Regions from separate parts of the Homo sapiens genome. Here region 1 is linked to region 2. The links are contacts of gene promoters, found by promoter capture Hi-C in blood cells and fetal thymus (Javierre and others, 2016). All regions are on one chromosome and are shown on one strand. The core of a region is centred on a gene start or on the middle of the fragment in contact, and the rest is flanking DNA. Distances in the headings are between cores, read along the strand shown.

Region 1 (6,002 bases), core at 2,115-4,614, 2.0 Mb after region 2:
AAAGGGATTTGTTGATTATAGTTTAACCTTATAATAGGAAGTGACCATTTGAAAGAGGCTTGCAGTGGATGGTGGGCAGATGTCTGAGCGGGCTTGAGAGACCATCATGGTGGGCTTGCAGACTCTCTCTCTCTCTCTCTCTCTCTCTCTCTCTCTCTCTCTCTCTCTCCCCCTCCCTCCCTCCCTCCCTCCCTCCCTCCCCCTCTCTCTCTCTCTCCTCTCTCTCTTCTCTCTCTCTCTCTCTCCCTCCCTCCCTCCCTCTCTCTCTCTCTCCTCTCTCTCCTCTCTCTCTCTCTCTCTCCCTCCTCTCTCTCTCTCTCTCTCTCTGTCTCTCTCTCCCCTCCCACAACTCCTTTCCACCCTACCTGCCCCCCTCCCGCCCCCACCCCCCAAACATAAAATCTTTCAGGAAATTGCCACATCTCTTTAGCCTGTGGTTTCTGGCAATCTGTATACTACTATTGAATCTTTGTTTTACGTTGAGGACACAGACAGAAAATTGGATCTTTCCTTTATCCAAGACCAAGTTTTGATTCTTTCAATTTAAATTGCAAGCAGGTGCCTATGGAGTGAAAACCTCAGTGTGAGATCAGAGCCAAAATTTATGTCACACAGCAGATTACATTGCTCGAAGAACATAAGGCATATCACCCCTTCAAATGTGCATTTACCTCTTAGTCACAAAGAAGGGGATATTTTAGACCTCCAAATGAAATACCCTTGGTATCATAATAAATCAATGAAATTATTAAAGGGAACTGTAGACATGAATTATTAAAATATTCCACTTAACTATTTTTGGAAGAAGGTGAGGGGGTCATATTCTATTTGAGAAACTTTTAAAATAAGTGGAGCTGTGTTAAGACTTCCATGTTTGTAATAATTTTAAGAGTTTGGGATAAACTGCATTTTGTCAGCCAATACTACAGAAAGTTCTCTTTTCAGTAGGTGCTTACAAAATGGACTTTTTCCTAGATGTCATCTTTCAGGGTAAAACTGAGTTTGCATATGTATGTAAGAAAAGTTAAAACAGAAAGGCCTCCTCATTTTTAATGACTTCAACTCCTCTATGGTTCCTTTTGGAATTGCTTTTTTTTTGGTAATAGAATTAAGAACACTAAAGCCTCAATAAGTTTTTGAGGGAGAGCCAACAACATCTGTGCTTGGCCATGTTGATGGTTCAAATTTTACTTTTTTATGAATGTATAAACCTAAACATAGTAATCAATTGCTCTGAGTTTGTCATGTGTCCAGTTGTATGGAATATGCTTGGCCTGTGATGCCAGATGAGTCTTGTAATCTGGAAGTAAGCTGTGTAGACACAAGGTCATTTTAGTAGACATTCTCTTTTTATCGAGTGCACTTCAGAATAGGTGGCTAGGAAGCAAGGCTGTCAATGAAAATTGATCCAAACCATTCCATCCAACTTCTTTATACGCACTAAAACCCAAGTGCTCATCCTGAAGAAATATTTTGGTTCTTATCTATTTGTGATCTATTTTTTTCTGTATTATCAGGTGATACTCCTCCTCCTTGCTGTGAAAAAAACTCCAGTACTTAAAAAAATATAAAATTCATTATATCCTCCATACCACTAGAGGCCTGCTATGAATTTCTAAGAATTCATTTAAATAGCCTATACGTTACCAGATTTTTTTTTTTATGTATATAACAGAGAAAAACAAAATGCATTAAAATTAGCTTCATCTTGACACTTAGTTCAGATGAGCTGGTCATACATAAATGGAAATTGTTAGTAGTTCAAAGATGTTGTAGTTAACTTCTTTAAAGAAACAGATTGAGAAGCTTTTGTTGTAGTTAACTTCTTTAAAGACACAGATTGAGAAGCTTTCCGATATCAAAATGTATTCATTACTTTGAATGAGAGTTCTTTATTTGTTCATTTGCTTATATGCGCTCTTTCATCTGGGAATTTTTTCTTTTATACGCCACGTCATACAGATCCCCTCTAATGCAGTTTCTGGTTATATTGGTATAGATAATTTATTCTTAAGAATCTAGCAGTATTTGGCAGCCCTGAGACATGAAAAGCTTCTATTATGAAATTAAATTTGGTTATTTTTTCTTAGTCTTTCAAACAGTCAATTTTTTGGATTCTTGCAATTGAATTTCCAGTGTTTTAAAAATGTATGAGTTAAAAGTATATTTGCAGTAATTCACCGTTTCTATTCTGATGATTTTAGAAATCTGAAAAGTTCTCCCATTGCTACATACATTTTCTTTAATGCTATGGGCTTATTGTTGTTATTATTATTTTTTAGATGGAGTCTCACTTTGTCGCCCAGGCTGGAGCGCAGTGGTGCGATTTCAGCTCAGTGTACCCTCTGCCTCCCGGGCTCAAGCAATTCTCCTGCCTCAGCCTCCCAAGTAGCTGGGAATACAGGCACCCGGCTATGGGCTTATTGTATACTCGTTTGCCCTTTTTCTGAATTAGGAAAAATGATCTAATCTTTAAACTACTGTATGATGCATGCTTTTCTCTATTGCCATTGTTTTATACTATTCTTCATTCAGTTCCTTTGCAACCTTTTGCTACTTTCAACATTTGCTTGGCTCTCATTATGTCAGTCCTGGAGAAAATGACTTTTGTTCTTTTGAAACATGGAAGTATGTAATATGATACATTCTGGTGGCTTTTTCCCCCAGAAGAAATAGATAGCCAAGTGGCTTAATTTTGACATTCAAGCTGATACTCAGAAGAAAAGTATGTCTTTGGGTTAGTTTACCTCTGTAAAGCATATAAATCTTTATAAATTATTGCCTTTTCTTATTTTTGTTTTTGGAATGATCATGTTTCAAAATTTAAATTAAACACCTGGTGATGGAGCAAAGCTTTGTTTATTTCCATAGGACATCTAGGTTTTAGTATTATCTTTCCAGCCTTCCTTTATACCTGGAGAGAATGTGTTGAACATCATTACCTTAACTTGCCCATGTCAAGTTAGAATTTCTTGCAGTTTAATAGATTGTCTTGATGTCTTGATGGAATGTTTGAGAGACAACTCACTAAATGCTTGTGTGTCAGGTTCAGTGTTGGGGAGCTGGGAAGGTGAAGAAGAATGAGCCTTCCAAGAGATTGTGCTCTGAAGGAAATATGTAGTATAAGTTATGTTCATTTATTTAGTAAATGTTTAATGAATGCTTCCTCTGTGTTGGACATTCATCAGTGCTTCCCAACAGGACACTATTGGCATTTTGGGTGGACAGTTCTTTGGTGTGTGGGAATGGCCCACGTGTTGCAGAACCTTTGGCATACTTGCCCATTATATTCTAGTAGTAGTCTCAGTCATGCGACATCAAAAAATTGTAACTCCCATTCCCTGTGCATACTTCCAAATGCTTCTAATTGAAAACCACTGCTCTAGATACTGTTATGGGTATTTAAAAACATGCGAATGTTTGATTTTAGATGGTTTCCACAAAGGGTTTAAAGCCTCATTAAAACTTGTCATCCTTACCACTTCCATCCACCTCCTCCACTTCCTCATCATCACAATCACAGTTCATAGTTACATGGCTTACATCACATGTTCCAACTAACTGTTTTATTTGATCATTCCAGCAATCTAGTGCGGTATTATTCCCATTCTTACTGACTAGTGGAGATAAAAAAAAAAAAAAGAAAAAAAGAAGCTGGCTAATGCCAGATCCTTAGTAAGTGGGGAGCAAGGCCATAACTATAATGCAGGCCTGAGCTTTGCAGTTTCTGATCTGCAGTTCCCAGTTCTCCTGGGGAGCCTGGAGGAAGGCACAGGGCCTGGTTGACTCTTGCTTTGGCCCTCAGCTAGCCAGCACCCTGACTCACATGAGGGTAGGCCTTGTTCGTGCTGGATTCTAAGGCCCATCCAAGCTTTTACCATCTCTCTAGTTTCTGCAAGTAAAGAACATTTTTACTGTATACTCATTCCTGACACTGTTCACCACTTAAACAGGTGCCCTGCCTTCCCATCATCGCAATGCCCCAGGAAAATTCTTTCTCACTATGCTTTGGTTGTGTCTTGCATGGTCCTATCACAACCAGTAATTACACATTTATTGATATGCTTTTGTACTAGGTCTTTCTTTGACTACCTCTATTATAAGCTTTTAAGTAAAGGAACAAGGTTATTTTTTTCCTTCCCTGTTTATCTCCAAAGCTTTAATAACTAACAAGTAGTTTGTGTTCAAAAAATACTTTGTGACTAGGTAAATGAGTGAATAATAGATTAATTGCTCTTTTATCAGGCACTTCTTCAAGCATATCACTGAAGGAGACATCTTTATATATTTTCTGAAGTCTTAAGGATAATTACTATCATCTCCCATTTGTTCACTGATGGAATATTTATTGTGGTGGCCTAGGACCTTCCAGGTTCTGTTCTGTGGTGCAAGTCATGCAGCAGTCACTGCTTTCGTGGAGTGTTAATTCTAGTGAAAGTCATGAATTCCACTTTCTCTAGCAGGTGTCATGATTTTCATAGAGCTGCCAGTTTTTATGTTTCCTCTACCTTTTGTGATAACACGTTCTAGAAATTATTGTCCAAAGAAATAAATTTGAGCATAAGGCTTTCAATTCATGGGTCATTCCACATTTGCCAAAAGGAAGAATAACACTTGATGTAGTTAAGGCATCTTTTGTTGACACTTTGATTTAGTTTCCTTTATTAAGTCATAGAAAGATGAACCTAGTATACCTCTTTCCTCTTCATTGTTGCTGAGTATTCTGAGCATTTTGATCAAAGTTCTACTAAGTGAAAATTGACTGGATCTGTTATTGACTGTCTCATTTCTGCAAAGATAAGAAAAAGTCAGGAGAAAAGAGAGTGTACTGAGAAACACTGGTGAAATTAGAGTCAAGACAGAAGAAGAGTTGTTCATTATTGGTAAATAAAAATTTATCGTTAATAAAATTTCCTTTCTAGGAAATAAATATAAGTAAGTCCTTCTCTGAAATATTTAGCACACCTAATGAAATCTTAAACCAAATTCAGTAAGTTCATGGAATAAAAGATTCAAGGTCCTTCAACCTCGTTCCATCAACAAAACACGGACAACATGGACAACAAAAACATTCTGTTGAACAAAAAACGTGGACAACAAAAACATGCTGTTGAATTTTGTTTCCCAGAAATGGTTAAAAACATTGCACTGACATGTAAGTTGGTGTAATTTACCAGAGCTTTTTGGCTATCTGGAATATATTTCAAATATGTTTATGAAGTTTACTAATTTTACATACCACTGTGACCTGCAAACAAGTCAACAAAAGTTCAGTAGAAAAGATAACAATTTACAGTTTAAATGACTATAATGGAGCTAATTGCTCTTGGAGGCTCTTAAGGATTATGTGTAAGAGACAAAGTTATGGCAGGTCATATCTTTTATAGTTCTTAGGAGAAGATTGCCAGTGTGAACTAGTTTGAAATAAATTTAATGAAGATCATGTTCAATTATTTCTGATGTGTTTAATTTATGCATATATACATAAATTATATATATATGTATCTATGTGTACACAGAGTGAGAGAGGAGCATGAAGGTCACATGACTGATCCTTGCATTCATTTTGTCCCTGGAGATATTTTACTTAGTTTCTAAATTCTTATACAAATTACTGTTCTTTAGATACAAAAGAATATTAAAAACTTTAAAAACTGCAGCAACAATGGACCAGTTCCCATGCTAAAGACTCAGAGCTGGCTTATCTCTACCACTGAAAGAACATCTGGGTGCATTCCAACACAAATCAGCTGTGATTAAATCTGTGAAATAATGGCATTAACAATGCCACAGACCAGTGTATAGCAGCTATGTAGAAATGGCATATCTAAAATTACCTCAGTGGCATATCCGAGGATGCATTATAATTGTATATCTGAAGGTCAGTTTCACCAAAAACCAACTTAGTAATAGCCTATCTAGAGATTAAGTCCTGTATTTTTTAAATTATGAAACATAATTACTGATGCAGCAAATGTGCCTGTGATTTATATGCAAAGAGC
Region 2 (5,363 bases), core at 1,512-4,011:
GGCTGCAAGGAAACTGCAAATCTTCATAAACAATCTCCCTGTTAAATTGTGATGGGCATTCTAGTATGTAATTTTACCTCCTTGTACGGAAAATCTTTTGGATTGAGTAGCAGGCCATGCTAGGTATGACCAGTTGTTTCTTCATTTCTTATGAGAAAAGAACTCCATTATCACATAGGGAATCCTATCCGGGTCGTTTGGATGGGGCTGTCCCTTCTGTCCCCTGCCAGAGGAAAGCGTCTGTGGCCTAGGCTTGGCCCATTTGAGGGAACCATCCCTTTCCAGGTACACTGAAGCTCAAGCATATGTGCATAAAAGACATCAACCAATCAGCAGCCCATCATCCAGAACTATGAGGGAAGACTATTCTGCTGAAGTTGTTAAGCAGTATGGTGTGGGGCTGGGGCGCAGGTAGCTCTCTTGGGTGCCACAGAGAGAGTCCATGCTTGGAGGATGGAGAGAGACTGAGATTGATGGCATTAGTTGCAACATGGATTCCATGGTGCCAGAAGCCATCTACCACTTTGTGGGTAAATACATCTTCTCCCCCGTCACCTTATTTTGGTATAAGCTAGTTAGCTAAGTTTCCAACATTTGCAATGAAAAGATTCCATCTTACTACAAAAGTTGAAACTATGCACCATTTTTCTCCATCGCAAGCCTGCTCCCTCACCTACATTCTCTACGGCAGTGAGCTCTCTCTCCTTTAAATGTGTCTCTCTAGGCACCACAACATCTCCATCGCCTGCTTCCATCCAACACCAATGCCCCCTCCTGCTCAGGCTCCTTTGCTGACTCCCCATTTCAAGAAGCCTATGTTGGGTGCCCAGGGCTAGGTCCTCAAGACTCTTTTCTGTCCTCACACACTCCCCTGGTGTCTCGCCCTATCCCATGACCCTCGACCCTCAGCCCAACTCTCACTCTGTCACCCAGGCTGGAGTGTAGTGGCACAATCTCGGCTCACTGCAACCTCCACCTCCTGGGTTCAAGCGATTCTCCTGCCTCAGCCTCCCGAGTAGCTGGGATTACAGGTGCCCACCACCACACCTGGCTAATTTTTGTATTTTTAGTAAAGACAGGGTTTCACCATGTTGGCCAGGCTGATCTTGAACTCTTGACCTCAGGTGATCCACCCGCCTCAGCCTCCCAAAGTGTTGGGACTACAGGCGTGAGCCACCGGGCCAGGCCTCCTTTGCCTTTTAATCTGTTTATAACATGCGGTGGACTAGGGAACCAACTGAGGCTGCCTCAGAGTCATCCACTTGGACTTTGCTGCACGGCTTGGTGACACTCACCTTAGCTGCTATTTATGGCTTGTTTTATTATTATCGGCCATATTCCGATTAGGTGCGGTGTCATCATACTGCATATGTATATGTGTCATCTATGGAATAGGGCAAGATGCTCCTACATAGGTAATGATTAGACTGAATCAATGCCACTTGATTTGTGAAAATAAGGATTTCCCAATCAGGGACTTCAATGTTGCCTCTGTTAGCACCCATCTCTAACGGAGAATTAATTAGCAGCTACAGTGATGAATTCAGTAGGTCCATGGGTCGGTTTCCTGTGGACTGCCTCCCTCCCAGCTAAAGCCCTGAAGTGCTGGGGAGAGGGCAGCACCCTGTATAGTGTCCTTCACAATCAACTGCTAAGACTGACCAAGAGCTCACCCCACTGCAGGAAATCACACAAGTGTAGCCCTTGGGTCCTGGGTTCCTTGTAAATTGAGCAGCATATAGGATCCTCCACATACAAGCACACCTGTACTTTTCCCCAGCATGACCCTGGGCCACCTTAGTCACATCTAACCATCTACCAAGGTAGTGGAATAGAGCAGAATGTCTTGACTTGAGGTCCATGTTCGGGGTCTGAATACTCGGAAATTACATGAAAATCTGTGGGAATCTGTGTGTGTTCAGGTCATTTAACTCTCAAAGGGGGGCTGTGCGACAAGGAAGGATCATTAGAAAGAGGAATGGAGGAAGACAAGCTTGGTACAGTGGAATGTAGGGTTTGAGGTGGGGAAATCCGTTGTGATCCTCCCTTCCCTGTATCATTATTTACACAAACTAGTTGGATATAAATATGGATATGCTACCTACCTAGTTTTTACCTCAGTTTCTGCATCTGTGAACTGGCAATAGCAATGGTGCCCACTTCATGGGACTGTGTGAAAAGGAAATGAGATATGATCCTTGTAAAACATTTAGCAAAGTCCTTCAATATAGGCTCCTTATGAATACACCAAACTTTTGCGGGTTTCAGCTCACCCACAAGTGTAAGCGATAGTTTACATGTTGGGGGTTCTCTACTGTGCTTTCCACTTTTTAGTCTCCAGAAAAATCTGGAGAAGAGAGGAGTGGAGGGGGTAGAGATGTAACGTCAAAGGAAAAGCCATGTGTCATGCTCACCTCTTAGTCTTCCGGGCGATCAGAAGCCAGGGATCTCTGGGCACCTATGTGCCTGGGCCTGCTGGGGCGACCGGGGAGGCCCCTGCTCTCGTCCTCTGACGCTCAGCGCTGGCCCAGCCGCGACCTTGGGCTCCCGGAGCCCGGCGGAGGCGCCCAGGCGTGAATGATGTCCCTTGGGTAGGGCTGGTGAGCTGGCGCGCGGGACAGCAGGGCTGGGTGTATGTGTCCATGGGCCCCGGGTCCCCGGAAGGCGAGCGCGCGGGCAGGTGAGCGCAGGGGGCGGGGTGGAAGCCGGAGGGACCGGGCTGATTGTGAGCTTCCGCCACGCAGGGCGCGGCTGCCGGGGCAACCGCAGCGTGCGCGGTGGGGCGGTGCTCGCCTCCGCCTCCGCCTCCGCCTCCGCCTCCGCCTCCGCCTCCGCCTCCGCCTCCGCCCCCGCCCCCGCCTCCGCCTCCGCCCCTCGCGCCTGGCTTCGACGCCAGGTGGCCGGCCTGGGCGGGATGGGGTAGCTGCGCTGGGTGTTCCAGGGCGGAGCGCAGAATGCTGCTGTCTTGAGGATTCCGCCCTTCTCTCATTCTCTTCTCCCACCTCCTGCCCTGGGTCAGAACGTAATTTAGTTATAAAATTAAAGCTGCATATGGCAATTAAAAAATGAAGTAAAATATACAATAAATATTTAGTTTACAAAGTACAATTAAATGAAAAATACAATAAATTACACAATAAAGCGAAAGTGAACCTACTCTCAACTGCCACAGATTCTTGCAAATCTTCCCAGAAATTTTCTTTCCATACTCTAGGATGCATATATGCTTAAAAAATATTTATACACAAATGGAAGCAAATATGGAGATCACTTTATTTCAGGGCCTACAAATGCACCATAACACCCCTCTCTCTCCCTCCACACATGCTTTTTGGCGGAAAATTCTGAAAGCTTTGGTTTGATTATGTGAATGTAAAACATATATATGTGTGTCTATATATATATGCTTTTTAATGCAGTATGTAATTGCTTCCAATTAAAAACAGTAATTCCTTACACCAGCCTACCCTATTCTACTCAGAGACTGTTTAAAAATGTTAAGAGCGAAGACATGGAATCAACCTAAGTGCTCATCAATGATAGACTGGCTAAAGATAATGCGGTACATATACACCATGGAATACTATGCAACCATATAAAGGAACAAAATTATGTCTTTTGCAGGAATATGGAGCTGGAGGCAATTATCCTTGGCAAGCTAACGCAGAAACAGAAAACCCAATACTGCATGTTCTCACTTATGAGTGAGAGCTAAGTGATGAGAACACATGGACACATAGAGGGGAACAGCACACACTGGGGCCTATTGGAGGGTAGAAGGTGGAGAGTGGGAGGAGGGAGAGGATCAAGAGAAATAACTAATGGGTACTAATCTTAATACCTGGGTGAGAAAATAATTTGTGCAACAAAACCACATGACACAAGTTTACCTATATAACAAATCTGCACATGTACCCCTGAACTTAAACGTCAAATAAAAAATAATAAAAATGTTATTAAGGACTATTTCATGCACACCAAAATATACTGTATGATATATGGAAAGTACATACCATACCATACCATAGCTAAAGAAATACCATAGCTAAAGAAAAAGAAAGCTAGGAAAAATAAAGGAAAAAGGAAAAGGAAAAAAAAGTCTGCCTCTACTGCTGTACTTATATGTATTTCTTCCCAACACTGCATCCTCCTCTTCCTGTTCCCAGAGATAATACCTGTTCTGAATTTTACATTTATCATCCCAGCCTCTTAAAAATGCATTGCTACATTGAATGCCTCCCTAAATAATGCATGTTTAATATTGCATATTTTGAGAATTTATAAAAATGTGGTAGAATGTTGTGTATTGTTTTGATGACTTTTTTCCTTTCAACGTCTTGTTTTTGAAATGTATCTTTGTTGGTATGTTTAATTGGAGTTCCTTTATCTAAACAGCTGTAGGCTATTCCATTATATTACCATTCCACACCCCTTTCAAATCAATTCCACTATTGATAGACATTTGGGATGTTTCCAGAATTTGCTACTAAAAGCAATACTACTAAGATCATGTTTATAAATGTCTTTGGACGCACACGTTCAAGAGTTTCACTAGAGTATATGTCTAGGAGTTAAATTTCTGGGTCATAGGTTATTTATAACATCAAGATAAAGACAACTTGTTTTCCCGACATATACAGCAATTTAGACTCCCATCAGCAGTGTGTATCTTAGCCAAAACTTGGTTTTGTCACACAAAAAACTTTCTGCCAATCTTGGTATCAATGCTCTTTTATAATTTACTTTACGTGACCTGATTACTAATTATTAATCTGTAAGTTTGATTCCTTAGAGATATTTGAGTGTAAATTTATTGTCAAACTGTGTCCAAAATTGGTGGGTTCTTGGTCTCACTGACTTCAAGAATGAAGCCAGGGACCCTCGCGGTGAGTGTTACAGCTCTTAATGTGGCGCATCTGGAGTTTGTTCCTTCTGATGTTCGGATGTGTTCGGAGTTTCTTCCTTCTGGTGGGTTCGTGGTCTCGCTGGCTCAGGAGTGAAGCTGCAGACCTTCACGGTGAGTGTTACAGCTCTTAAGGCGGCGCTTCTGGAGTTGTTGGTTCCTCCTGGTGGGCTCGTGGTCTCGCTGGCTTCAGGAGTGAAGCTGCAGACCTTCGCAGTGAGTGTTACAGCTCATAAAAGCAGTGTGGACCCCAAGAGTGAGCAGCAGCAAGATTTATTGCAAACAGTGAAAGAACAAACCTTCCACAGTGTGGAAGGGAACCCAAGCGGGTTGCCACTGCTGGCTCAGGCAGCCTGCTTTTATGCTCTTATCTGGCCCCACCCACATCCTGCTGATTGGTAGAGCCGAGTCCTCTGTTTTGACAGGGCGCTGATTGGTGCGTTTACAATCCCTGAGCTAC

Evidence for each region. The method cuts DNA at HindIII sites, captures the fragments that hold promoters and counts their contacts. A CHiCAGO score of 5 or more calls a contact.
Region 1: a contact is called between a fragment that was not itself captured here and the fragment with the promoter of ANKEF1 in region 2, in 1 of 17 cell types (total CD4 T cells). The highest score is 7.4, in total CD4 T cells.

The regions. Positions count from the first base shown.
Region 1 is chr20:8,012,649-8,018,650 of GRCh38, reverse strand. The region is part of intron 1 of TMX4 (thioredoxin related transmembrane protein 4); the gene reads left to right. Among named protein-coding and RNA genes, the nearest start is that of TMX4, 4.1 kb to the left of the region's middle. The HindIII fragment of the contact is 1,018 bases long and covers 2,856-3,873 here.
Region 2 is chr20:10,032,385-10,037,747 of GRCh38, reverse strand. ANKEF1 (ankyrin repeat and EF-hand domain containing 1) reads right to left here and starts at 2,761. Exons shown (of 11, transcript NM_022096.6): 1 at 2,415-2,761; 2 at 2,106-2,169. The region is part of intron 3 of SNAP25-AS1 (SNAP25 antisense RNA 1); the gene reads left to right. RefSeq lists a silencer at 2,421-2,970. The HindIII fragment of the contact is 1,358 bases long and covers 1,996-3,353 here.